2 separate regions of the Homo sapiens genome follow, and region 2 is linked to region 1. The links are contacts of gene promoters, found by promoter capture Hi-C in human tissues and cell types (Jung and others, 2019). All regions are on one chromosome and are shown on one strand. The core of a region is centred on a gene start or on the middle of the fragment in contact, and the rest is flanking DNA. Distances in the headings are between cores, read along the strand shown.

Evidence for each region. Contacts are between HindIII fragments. The study calls those that stand out against the background at their distance.
Region 2: a fragment that was not itself captured here is called in contact with the fragment with the promoter of HORMAD2 in region 1 in 1 of the 25 tissues and cell types used here (pancreas).

The regions. Positions count from the first base shown.
Region 1 is chr22:30,078,377-30,083,657 of GRCh38, reverse strand. It overlaps HORMAD2 (HORMA domain containing 2), which reads right to left and starts at 3,194. Exons shown (of 11, transcript NM_152510.4): 1 at 3,167-3,194. It overlaps HORMAD2-AS1 (HORMAD2 and MTMR3 antisense RNA 1), which reads left to right and starts at 3,401. Exons shown (of 5, transcript NR_110541.2): 1 at 3,401-3,530. RefSeq lists enhancers at 3,124-3,203, 3,041-3,738, 4,913-4,992 and silencers at 3,544-3,593, 5,043-5,162. The HindIII fragment of the contact is 22,926 bases long and covers 1-5,281 here.
Region 2 is chr22:30,035,290-30,040,110 of GRCh38, reverse strand. All of the region lies in intron 3 of HORMAD2-AS1 (HORMAD2 and MTMR3 antisense RNA 1), which reads left to right. Among named protein-coding and RNA genes, the nearest start is that of MIR6818, 31 kb to the right of the region's middle. The HindIII fragment of the contact is 4,617 bases long and covers 793-4,821 here.

The sequences.
Region 1 (5,281 bases), core at 1,945-4,444:
GGCAACAAGAGTGAAACTCCGTCTCAAAAAAAAAGCCAGACTCCTTTCAGCCTCTAATTATTCTGTTGCTACTGTTTTCCCTTTGAGCAGGTGTTTTGTGGAGGTCTTCTATTTAAGTACAAACCCTGCTTAATTTTAAAAGCTCACAAGTTCACAGGAGGTATGACTCTAGAGAGCATGCATTCTCAGAGAATAGGTCTGATTTTTTCTATGTGTTATCCCTTTGTTCAGGCTCATTATCTAAAAACCTAGAAGAGATTTCATAACTATGGATTTTAAGAACTGAAAGCTAACTTTGCAATGTCATTCTCTTATATATTTGTTTGCAAATTAGATCCACACATATTTGAAACTTCACAGTTCATCAATACCATTCCCTCTTCTGTTTTTGAGACAAGGTCTTACTCTGTTTACCCAGGCAGGAATGCAGTGGCGCAATCTTGGCTCACTGCAACCTCGACCTCCTGGGCTCAAGTGATCCTCCCACCTCAGCCTCCTAAGTAGCTAGTACTAGAGGCCATGTGCCACCACACTCAGCAAATTTTATTTTTGGTAGAGATGAGGTCTCACTATGTTACCCAGGCTGGTTTTGAACTTCTGGGCTCAAGCAATACTCCTTTCTTAGCCTCCCAAAGTGCTGGGATTATAAGTGTGAGCCACTGCAACTGACCCTCACTCTTACATTTGATATGTCTACTTTGTGACAAGGATTATGATCTTCTTGAGAAAGAGGCAATATTTCTATGCTCTTTCTGGTAAAGATTCACTCTAGGCTTACCTCTTGACCTATATCTCAATTGCCCTATTTTTTTTGTTGTTGTGTATTCATTTTCTTTTCTTTTCTTTTCTTTTTTTTTTTTTTGAGACAGAGTAAAGTGCGGTGGCATGATCTGTCACCTAGGCTGGCATAATCACAGCTCATTGCAACCTCAAACTTCTGGGCTCAAGTGATCCTCCTATCTCAGCCTTCCAAGTAGCTGAGACTATATGCATGCACCACCATGCCCTGCTAATTTTTAAAAATTTTTTATTTTTGTAGAGTTGGGCGGGCGGGTGGAGGGGGAGGTCTCACTATGTTGCCCAGACTGGCCTCGAACTCTTGGCCTCTCAAAGTTTTGGGATTACACATATGAGACACCACACCACGCCTTCAATTGCCCTATTTTATATGGTGGCACAATTACTTCCTATTTTACCCCTACTATGTGTGAGTCCAAGATTCACATAAAGATTAGCCAGCTGCTGTTTAGTTTACTAAGGCCTAAACCACTTTTTTAACCATTCCAAGTGAAGCAAAAGCCAAAGTTTTATTACATTTTCCCAAATATAATCATAGTTGATTTATGAAGGCTCTCTACCCATCTTTCTCAATCTTCAAAAACCGTTTTTTACAAGAAAATCCCTTTTCTATCAGGTGAACACTATCCAATAGCTGGATTCTGAAATGTAACTATATTACCTTCCTTACACATGCATGTTGTTAAGAATGGCTTTACTCAAAAGAAGTGTACGTTAACATAAATGGGTTCAATAGATTCCTAAAGCTGGAAGGGAGCACAGACATCTTCCAACCCCTTTGATTTAAAGAAGATCCAATTCTGTGGAGGAAGAATCTTTTTTTCAGCAAATGATGCTGAAACAAAAGGACATCTGGAGGGTGGGGGGAAGAACAGAGAATTAAAAGAAACTTAACCTAAATCTCACACTGTATACAAATATTAATGCAAAATGGATCATGGATTTAAACCTAAACATAAAACTATAAAGAAAAGGGGCCAGGTGCAGTGGCTCACACCTGTAATCCCAGCACTCTGGGAGGCCGAGGTGGGAGGATCACGAGGTCAAGAGATCGAGACTATCCTGGCCAACATGGTGAAACCCTGTCTCTACTAAAAATAAAAAAAAATAAAAAAATTTAGCTGGGCGTGGTGGTGCACACCTGTAGTCCCAGCTACATGGGAGGCTGAGGCAGGGGAATCGCTTGAACCCGAGAGGTGGAGGTTGCAGTGAGCTGAGATTGCGTCACTGCACTCCAGCCTGGCACAGAGCTCGACTCCATCTCACAAAAAAAAAAGAAAAAAGAAAAGGAAAGTGAGGCTAAGCAAGGGAACTTGGTTTGCCAAAGTTCGCCCAATTACTTAGACCTTCCAACAGAGCTTGCTTCAATAAATTATTCACCATTTTAACAAATTCCATTTGGCCCTGGTAATTCCCCTACCTGTGCTCATTCAGAGAAAATGGCTTCCACTATATTAATTGAGTATTTGTTCATGCTCTTTTGACTTTTTAATATCTTTTTCATGCTATTTCAATTATTCATTCATTCAACATCTACGAGGCAACTACAATGTGCCAGGCAACAACATGCAGGATTACGAGATGTAAAATACTGTTCCTACCTCAACAGATTGATGGTCCAATGGAGGAGAAATTAGATTATGATCCTGCTGAGATTAAAAACCCCTTTAGGGGCCAGAACCACCCCTCATTTCTACCAGCTGAGTACACGATGTACTGCACAGCCTGTCCAGTGCCCTGCGTACTCGGACACATTTTGGCGATTGGCTAATCCTGAGGTTCAAGACTCTCTCCCTCTGTTTAGGGAACTAAAGTCCATAGGGATTAATTGGCAAATCCTCACTAAAGTGAAAGGGGAGCTGAGGTCAAGGGGGGCGGGGTGTCTTGTCCCCACCTCTCTCACCTCTTGGCCTGTACCAGGCATCGATCCTGGCAGAAAACCTCAATGGCTGGGGAGAATCTGACCCAGGTAAGATAAACTTCCCCAAAGCTCCACCACACACGGCCCCCTCCAATGTCGGGCACAGACATCGTCTGCCCTGCCAGCCTCATCATGGCTCATTATGGCTGCTGCTTGCTCAGCAAGTTTGATTTCATGTCCAGAAAAATCTGAATTTCAAAACTACCTGGGTGCTCTCTGTCCAGTTCTGGGGGAAATCGCCTCCCTTTTGCCTTCCTCCTCAGCCCCCTGCCCTCCCGATTCTCTTCACAGTACTTTAGGCCCTCACGAAATATGATACTTTCAAATCCAACTTAAAGCCTTAAGTAATAAGAAAAGAAAAAAAAATTGTTTTTTGACATAAAGACAGAACTAACAACGCCCGAGTGCCCTCTCTGGGCCGAGACCTCGCGTCTCAACAGCCCTCACCTCAGCTCGTCGACGCTTCCCTCCCACCGGGGGTCAACGGCCTTTTCCGGCCCAAACCCGCTCCTCGGCTCATGAATAGTCAACGAGGCCTTTCTGGGCGGGACCAGAGGTTTCCTCATGAATAATTCATGACCCGTCCACGGCTAGCCTGGGCGACCGGCCTCGCTAGACTTCATGAATATGCAAAGCAGGGGCGAACGGCGGCTAGCCGGCCCCTAGCCCGCCCGGCCCCTCAGCAGCCGCCTCTCAGCCACGGGCTGCACACTGACCCGACGCGACCTTCGGTCAGGGGCCGCCAGCCTGGGCCACCTATACAACGACAGCCTGCTCCGGGGCTTCCTGAGGAGGTGCCTGCCCCGCCGAGGTTAGGACCCGAGGGACCGTGGGGCTCGGGCGGGCCAGGACGCCAGGCCGGCGGGTCCCAGAGAGGTCTGAGGCGGGCGCGGGGCGGCGTAGGGGAGGGAAGCGAGAGCCTGGGGGGCCCAGGGACCCGAGTTAGAAGAAGGCCCGAGAAGTGCGGCGCGGTGGCTCCACCTGGGATCCCAGCACTCTGGGAGGCTGAGGCGGGCGCGTCACTTGAGGTCAGGAATTCGAGACCAGCCTGGCCAACATGTTGAAAACCCGTCTCTACAAAAAATACAAAAATTAGCTGGGCGTGGTGGCGCGCGCCTGTAGTCCCAGCTACTTGGGAAGCTGAGGCACGAGAATCGCTTGAGCCCAGGAGGCTGAGGTTGCAGTGAGCCGAGATTCCGCCATTGCACTCCAGCCTGGGCGACAGAGCGAGACTCCGTCTCAAAAAAATTTTAAAAAGTACAAAAATTAGCTGGGCCACCTGACGTGCGCCTGTAGTCCCAGCTGCTCGGGAGGCTGAGGTAGGAGGATCGCTTGAGCCGGGGAGTTTGAGGTTGCAGTGAGCCAAGATCGTACCATTGCACTCCAGCCTGGGCAACAGAGGGAGACCCTGTCTCAAAAATAAAAAAAAAGAAAAGAAAGAAAAAAGACATAAGGCCAGAAGGCCAGAGCTTTCCAATACTTGAGGGCATCTGCAACCTCTTCATCCCTACCCTGGACCTGACTTTGCATTCTTTTTAACATTAATTTGTAATTATGCAAATAAAACATAAATATATTCTCCTTTGTGCCCTACCCCTAATCTCAGTTTTTTCTGCCCTGGTAACTGTGGGAGCAGTTGGGGGTGTGGCTCCTTGGATCGTTTCTCACCTGTTTAGGTAGATATTTCGTATCCTGTGGTGCTTTCCAAAGGCTCCTGGAGTCCCATGAACCTCCCCAAGGGGATTTCCCAAGAGAGTAGATGAAAGAGTGAGCCACTTGAAACCTGTTCTTATTTTGTTTCTGCAGGAAAGAAAAAAAAAACTATTCAAGTTGGCGAGAACATGAGTTTAGAACATAATGACTAAAACTGAAATTTGGGCTGAAATATTCTTTTAGTGCAAGTTTTCTCAACCTTCTCCCCACCCCCACCATCATAACAACCAAAAATTTCTCTAGACTTTGCCAAATGTCCCATGGGGTGTGCAAAATTGCCCTCTGTTGAGAACTACTGCGTTCACCCTATACTTTCCGGAAGTAACTGCTTTTTAAGCTCCAACCACACAGATGGTTTGTCTGCACCAGCCCTTCTCAGCCTCCGCATTTACCAGCCTCTCTGGCTGGATCACTAGGCCCTCTGTGCTGGCTGTTCTAATTTTCTTCTGCCTTCAGATCTGAGCTCAGTCAACTGCTACCATATCCAAAGACTTACCCCTCTCTGCCCTATACTATTGGCAGTCTACCCCACCAGCAAACACAGTTATTCGTTATTCTGTTTCTTTCATAGAATTTCTCTCAATCTAATTTTTTTTTTTTTTTTTTTTTTTTTTTTTTGTGAGACAGAGTCTTGCTCTGTCACCCAGGCTGGAGTGCAGTGGCGTGATATTGGCTCGCTGCCACCTCCACCTCCCAGGCTCAAGTGATTCTCCTGCCTCAGCCACCTAAGTAGCTGGGGTTACAGGCATGCATCACCATGCCCGGCTGATTTTTGTATTTTTAGTAGAGATGGGGTTTCACCATGTTGGCCAGGCTGGTCTTGAACTCCTGACCTCAAGCAATCCACCC
Region 2 (4,821 bases), core at 1,852-4,351, 43 kb after region 1:
TAGATCAGCCAGACTTTGTAAAACATGATCTATTTCCTCACTGGATCCTCAACAGTCCCATGGGCAGACTGGACAAATATCCCCATAGGTGAGAAATTAAAGCAGAGTAGAGTGGTCAACCCCCTACCCTGTAAGTGACTGGGGGCTAGAATACAGGTCTCACAACACTGGGTCAGGGCTTTGTCTGCTGTGCACAAGCAGGCACTTGCCTAGGCAGATACTGAGCTCTAGCTTCATCATTTCATGTTTGATTTTCTATAGTGTAATCAATCATAGGATCATTAGCCCCCCTGGTGTCTGCTGCAAATTTATCTTAAATGCCAATTTGTCCCTGCATTAGAAGGGAAGCTGTTTAGTTGAGGGAGCTCTTCCTGAGAAACGGTGAATTTTATGTTATTTTTTATTTTTTTGAGACAGAGTTTTACTCTTGTTGCCCAGGTTGGAGTGCAATGGTGCAATCTCTGCTCACTACAACCTCCGCTTCCCAGGTTCAAGCAATTCTCCCGCCTCAGCCGCCCAAGTAGCTGGGACTACAGGTGCCTGCCACCATGCCCGGCTAATTTTTGTATTTTTAGTAGGGATGGGGTTTCACCATGTTGGTCAGGCTGGTCTTGAACTCCTGACCCCAGGTGATCCACCCACCTCAGCCTCCCAAAATGCTGGGATTATAGGCATGAGCCACCATGCCCGGCTGAAACAGTTAATTTTAGTGAGCAGCTGATTCCTTTTTTTTTTTTTTTTTTTTTGAGACAGAGTCTTGCTCTGTCGCCCAGGCTGGAGTGCAGTGGCTCGATCTCGGCTCACAGCAAGCTCCGCCCCACGGGTTCACACCTTTCTCCTGCCTCAGCCTTCCGAGTAGCTGGGACTACAGGCGCCCGCCACCACGCCCGGCTAATGTTTTGTATTTTAGTAGAGACGGGGTTTCACCATGTCAGCCAGGATGGTCTCGATCTCCTGACCTCATGATCTGCCTGCCTCGGCCTCCCAAAGTGCTGGGATTACAGGCATGAGCCACCGCGCCCGGCCCCTGATTGATTCTTGCATTGGTGATTGCTTCATGCATGACTTACTGAGTTTTGGAAAGAAACAGTCCTGTGTAAAGCCAATGAAACAGCACTAGTACTTTAACATTCAGTGTTCTTTGGAGTTGCTCTTGAACCCTTCTCTGCCCTGGTTTAGGCCTTTTTCATGCAGGTGGCCTCTTACTGCTCTTTCCACCTCATCTTGCCTCGCCTCCCAGCACCCACTTCCATTCATCCTGGGCCCAGGAGAGACTGGGTAGCGCAGCGGTTGAGAGCGTGATTTCAGGAGGCAGAGGGGCCAGATTCAAACCATGGCTCAGCTGCTTCAACTTTCTGGGTGACCTTGGGCAAGGGGCTTAACAGCTCTACTGGCTCAGTCATCTTAGTTTCAAATGAGGCTGTCACAGTACCTCACCAGGTTAATAGGAGAATTAAATGTGTTACTCATGGAAAGTATTTGGACAGTGCCTAGCCCATAACAAATATTAACTATTATCATCTTGTTCCATTCTCTGTTCAGAAACCTCAAATACCTATAGAATTGGGACCAGTGTTTGGCCTGACATAGGAGACTTTTTTGGCCTAAGCTTTTAACAAATATTTCCTGCCTTTCCTGTTCGCTAACCCATGCCCTCTGGCTCAGATCCTGAAACCCGCCCACTTGCCTTGGCTCACCTTGACGTCATCATATTGCCATGTGTTGATGTCACTGCTATCCCCCAAGGGGCAGGCTCCCTGCTCAGATGTACATGTACTCTCTTCTTCCTCTGAGCTATAACTCCAACTAGTCAGTATCCAAGTTCCTGTAGCCACTAGTTGTGGAGAAAGCTAAAGTCATCAGACATGAAGAGTATTCTCTACACAACTCAACCACTTAGAAAAATCACTCTCCACTTAAACATCTCTTCCTCCTTAACATACTCTCCATCCACCATAGCCCAACTTCCCTGTTACGGATTGTGAGATGTTGAAAATACAACAAAACAGGCACCAAAGTACAATTTAAGTTTTGTAAAATATGCAGAATTTCACATAGTTGGTGAATGTGTTGGCAAACTGCTCAGATGAGTGTAGCCATTGGAAATAAGGATCGCAGAGAGTAGGTCCATTAACAAATGAAGGGGAAGGTGACATGTCTAACCAATTAGGTGTTTCCTAGGGGGATGATGTGAATATCAAAGACTAAAGGATTTAAGAGGGAAATTGAGGAAGCCCTTGACTAACTTTTCCTAAAATGATCCTGTGATTGATTACACTAGAAAATCAAACATGAAATAATGTCCTATTGTGCAATCATATAATTTGGGGAGGGAAATACACCTAAAATATTATTTTTAAGAATTAGCCTGGTCGGGAGTGGTGGCTCACGCCTGTAATCCCAGCACTTTGGGAGGTCAAGGCAGGTGGATCACTTAAGGTCAGAAGTTTGAGACCAGCCAAGCCAACATGGCAAAACCCCACCTCTACTAAAACTACAAAAATTAGCTGGGTGTACTGGTGCATGCCTATAATCCCTGCTACTCAGGAAGCTGAGGCACGAGAATCTCTTGAACCCAGGAGGCGGAGGTTGTAGTGAGCCAAGATCGTGCCACTGCACTCCAGCCTGGGCAACAGAGCGAGACTGACCCTCTCTCAATAACGACAACAACAACAAAGAATTAGCCTATAGTTGCAATTACCTTTTGTTAAAACATACTTTTAAACAAAACAGTGGGAGATACTGGTTAAAGGATAAATTTCAGTTAAATAGGATTAGGTTAAAGAGCTCTATTGCACCACAAGGTGACTTAGTTAATAACAATGCATTGTATTCTTGAAAATCTCTAAGAGGGTAGATTTTAAGTGTCTCTCATCACAAAAAAATAAGTATGTGAGGTAACGCATATGTTAATTAGATCGATTTAAACCATTACACAATGTATACATATTTCAAAACATACTGTATATTATATATAATTTTGTCGATTCAAAAAAGATACTTATTTCAATAATAGTTTCATTTTACAAGATTAAATTCGGATCAAACCTTTTTCACTATGTGCTGTATGAAACACTGGTCTCCATTTTCAATGGGTTGCCTCTAAGAGGCTTTTTCAGGTCCTGTTCTTTTTGGATGAGGGTATGAATATATTTATCTGCCTGATCATCTTCCCTAACAGGCAGCATATTCTTGAGAGCAAACAGTGCCTGAGACAGAAGTCCCATGTCATCTCATGGAATGGTAGGGGTGGGGACATGTGTGAGTCACCAGTGAAGCCTGCACAGAGACTTAGCCTTCAATGACTTACTACATGAAGGCGCCACAGAGCATATCCAGAGCTGTCAGAAGCCAAGACTCTCTGTGCATGCATTGGTTAGGGTCCTCAGCAATGAGGGGTGACAGAGTACCGAGGCAGAACAGGGCAGAGGGTTCCTGAACAGACAGCCAGGCCCTTGTTCTCAGCTTGATCTGGGCTTTTCAGGCATCAGCAGGGCCCTCTGAGGGCATGAGGTGCCTTGGAGGGCAGCAGGGTGACCCGGAAGACATGTGACTGGCAAGGGTGTTCTGGTAGGCCCAGGTAAGGAGAGGCAGAGCCCCTCTGCCCTTGCCTAGGGCAGCACACAGAAACCATGCCCAGTGGCTTTGGGTGCTCTAGCTCATTCCTGTCCAACCAGGGTCAAAGCTTCCTACGACGGAGTGTCATAAATAGACTGACGATGGGGCTTCCCCCAGTCCCAGGAAGGGTTGGTGGGGTGTCGGAATTCAATTACAATATGAAAATAAGAGGTGAACTTCCTACTTGGGGTTGAAGGATAGGAGGGCAAACTTGGCATCGGCGTTCACCCCTGCACTAGGTGCTGACTGCATCCTGCAACAGAGGATAAAAGCGAAGAGCAGACGTCGTGGCCTCTCAGTTCAGGGGAAGCCCCGAGGCATCTCTGGCTGACAAGGCTGAGCTCAGTTTTCAGGCCCAGAACTAGTCCCCAGGTTAATGCCATCGAACTGCGTGGGGGTGCAGGTGAAGCATGGCCACATAGACACGTCCAGATGGGGACACCTGATGCTCTCGCAGTCTCCCCAGGTGCCTGAAGGAGGCCTCTAGAGACTTAGAACTGTGGTATATAACAGGCCTCCATTTTCAGCACTTTAATTTCTGCATGTCCAAGGAAGCATGCGTGGAAGGAGGGCAGAGAGCTGAGCCTCAGAGCAGTAATGCCAAGGAAGTAGGTGAGAGGGCTGCCTGCAAAGTCTCACAGGCCAACTACAGAGGCAGAAGAACTGGCAGGAGGGTTAGCAAGGTGGCAGGTTGCAGAATGGTTGCAAGAAAGAATGCTTTGGAGTGGGTCTAGAGTGTGTGGCTAGTCCTTGGGGACACCCAGTGTTGGGGTGGTGGGGGGCAGCAGAAGCAGGAGGAAGAGGAAGGGGTGGTGGAGCAAAGACGATATAGAGCTGGCCACTCTTTCTATTCGTTTCACAGTGAAGGGAAGGAGCAAGACAGGATACTTGCTGGAGGCAGAGACTTGAAAGAATTTGCTCTGACTTGAAAGAATTTGCTTTGCAGGCTGGAGGACTGGACAGCTTTAGGGATAGAGGAAGGAGCCAGCCAAACAAGGTTGAAAGAAAAAGGCTAAGGCCATGGTGGATGTGGGACAAAGCCCTAGACCATCTATTCTGGCTGTCATTTTGTCACTTACTGAACCATTTCTGTTCTCTAACTCCAAAAGTGTGAGAATTTCTGGCAGAAGAATCTACACCACGGTTTACTCTGTAACAGACAACAAAAACAAGTAAAGCTTTGTTGCAGAGTATTTTTAAAAA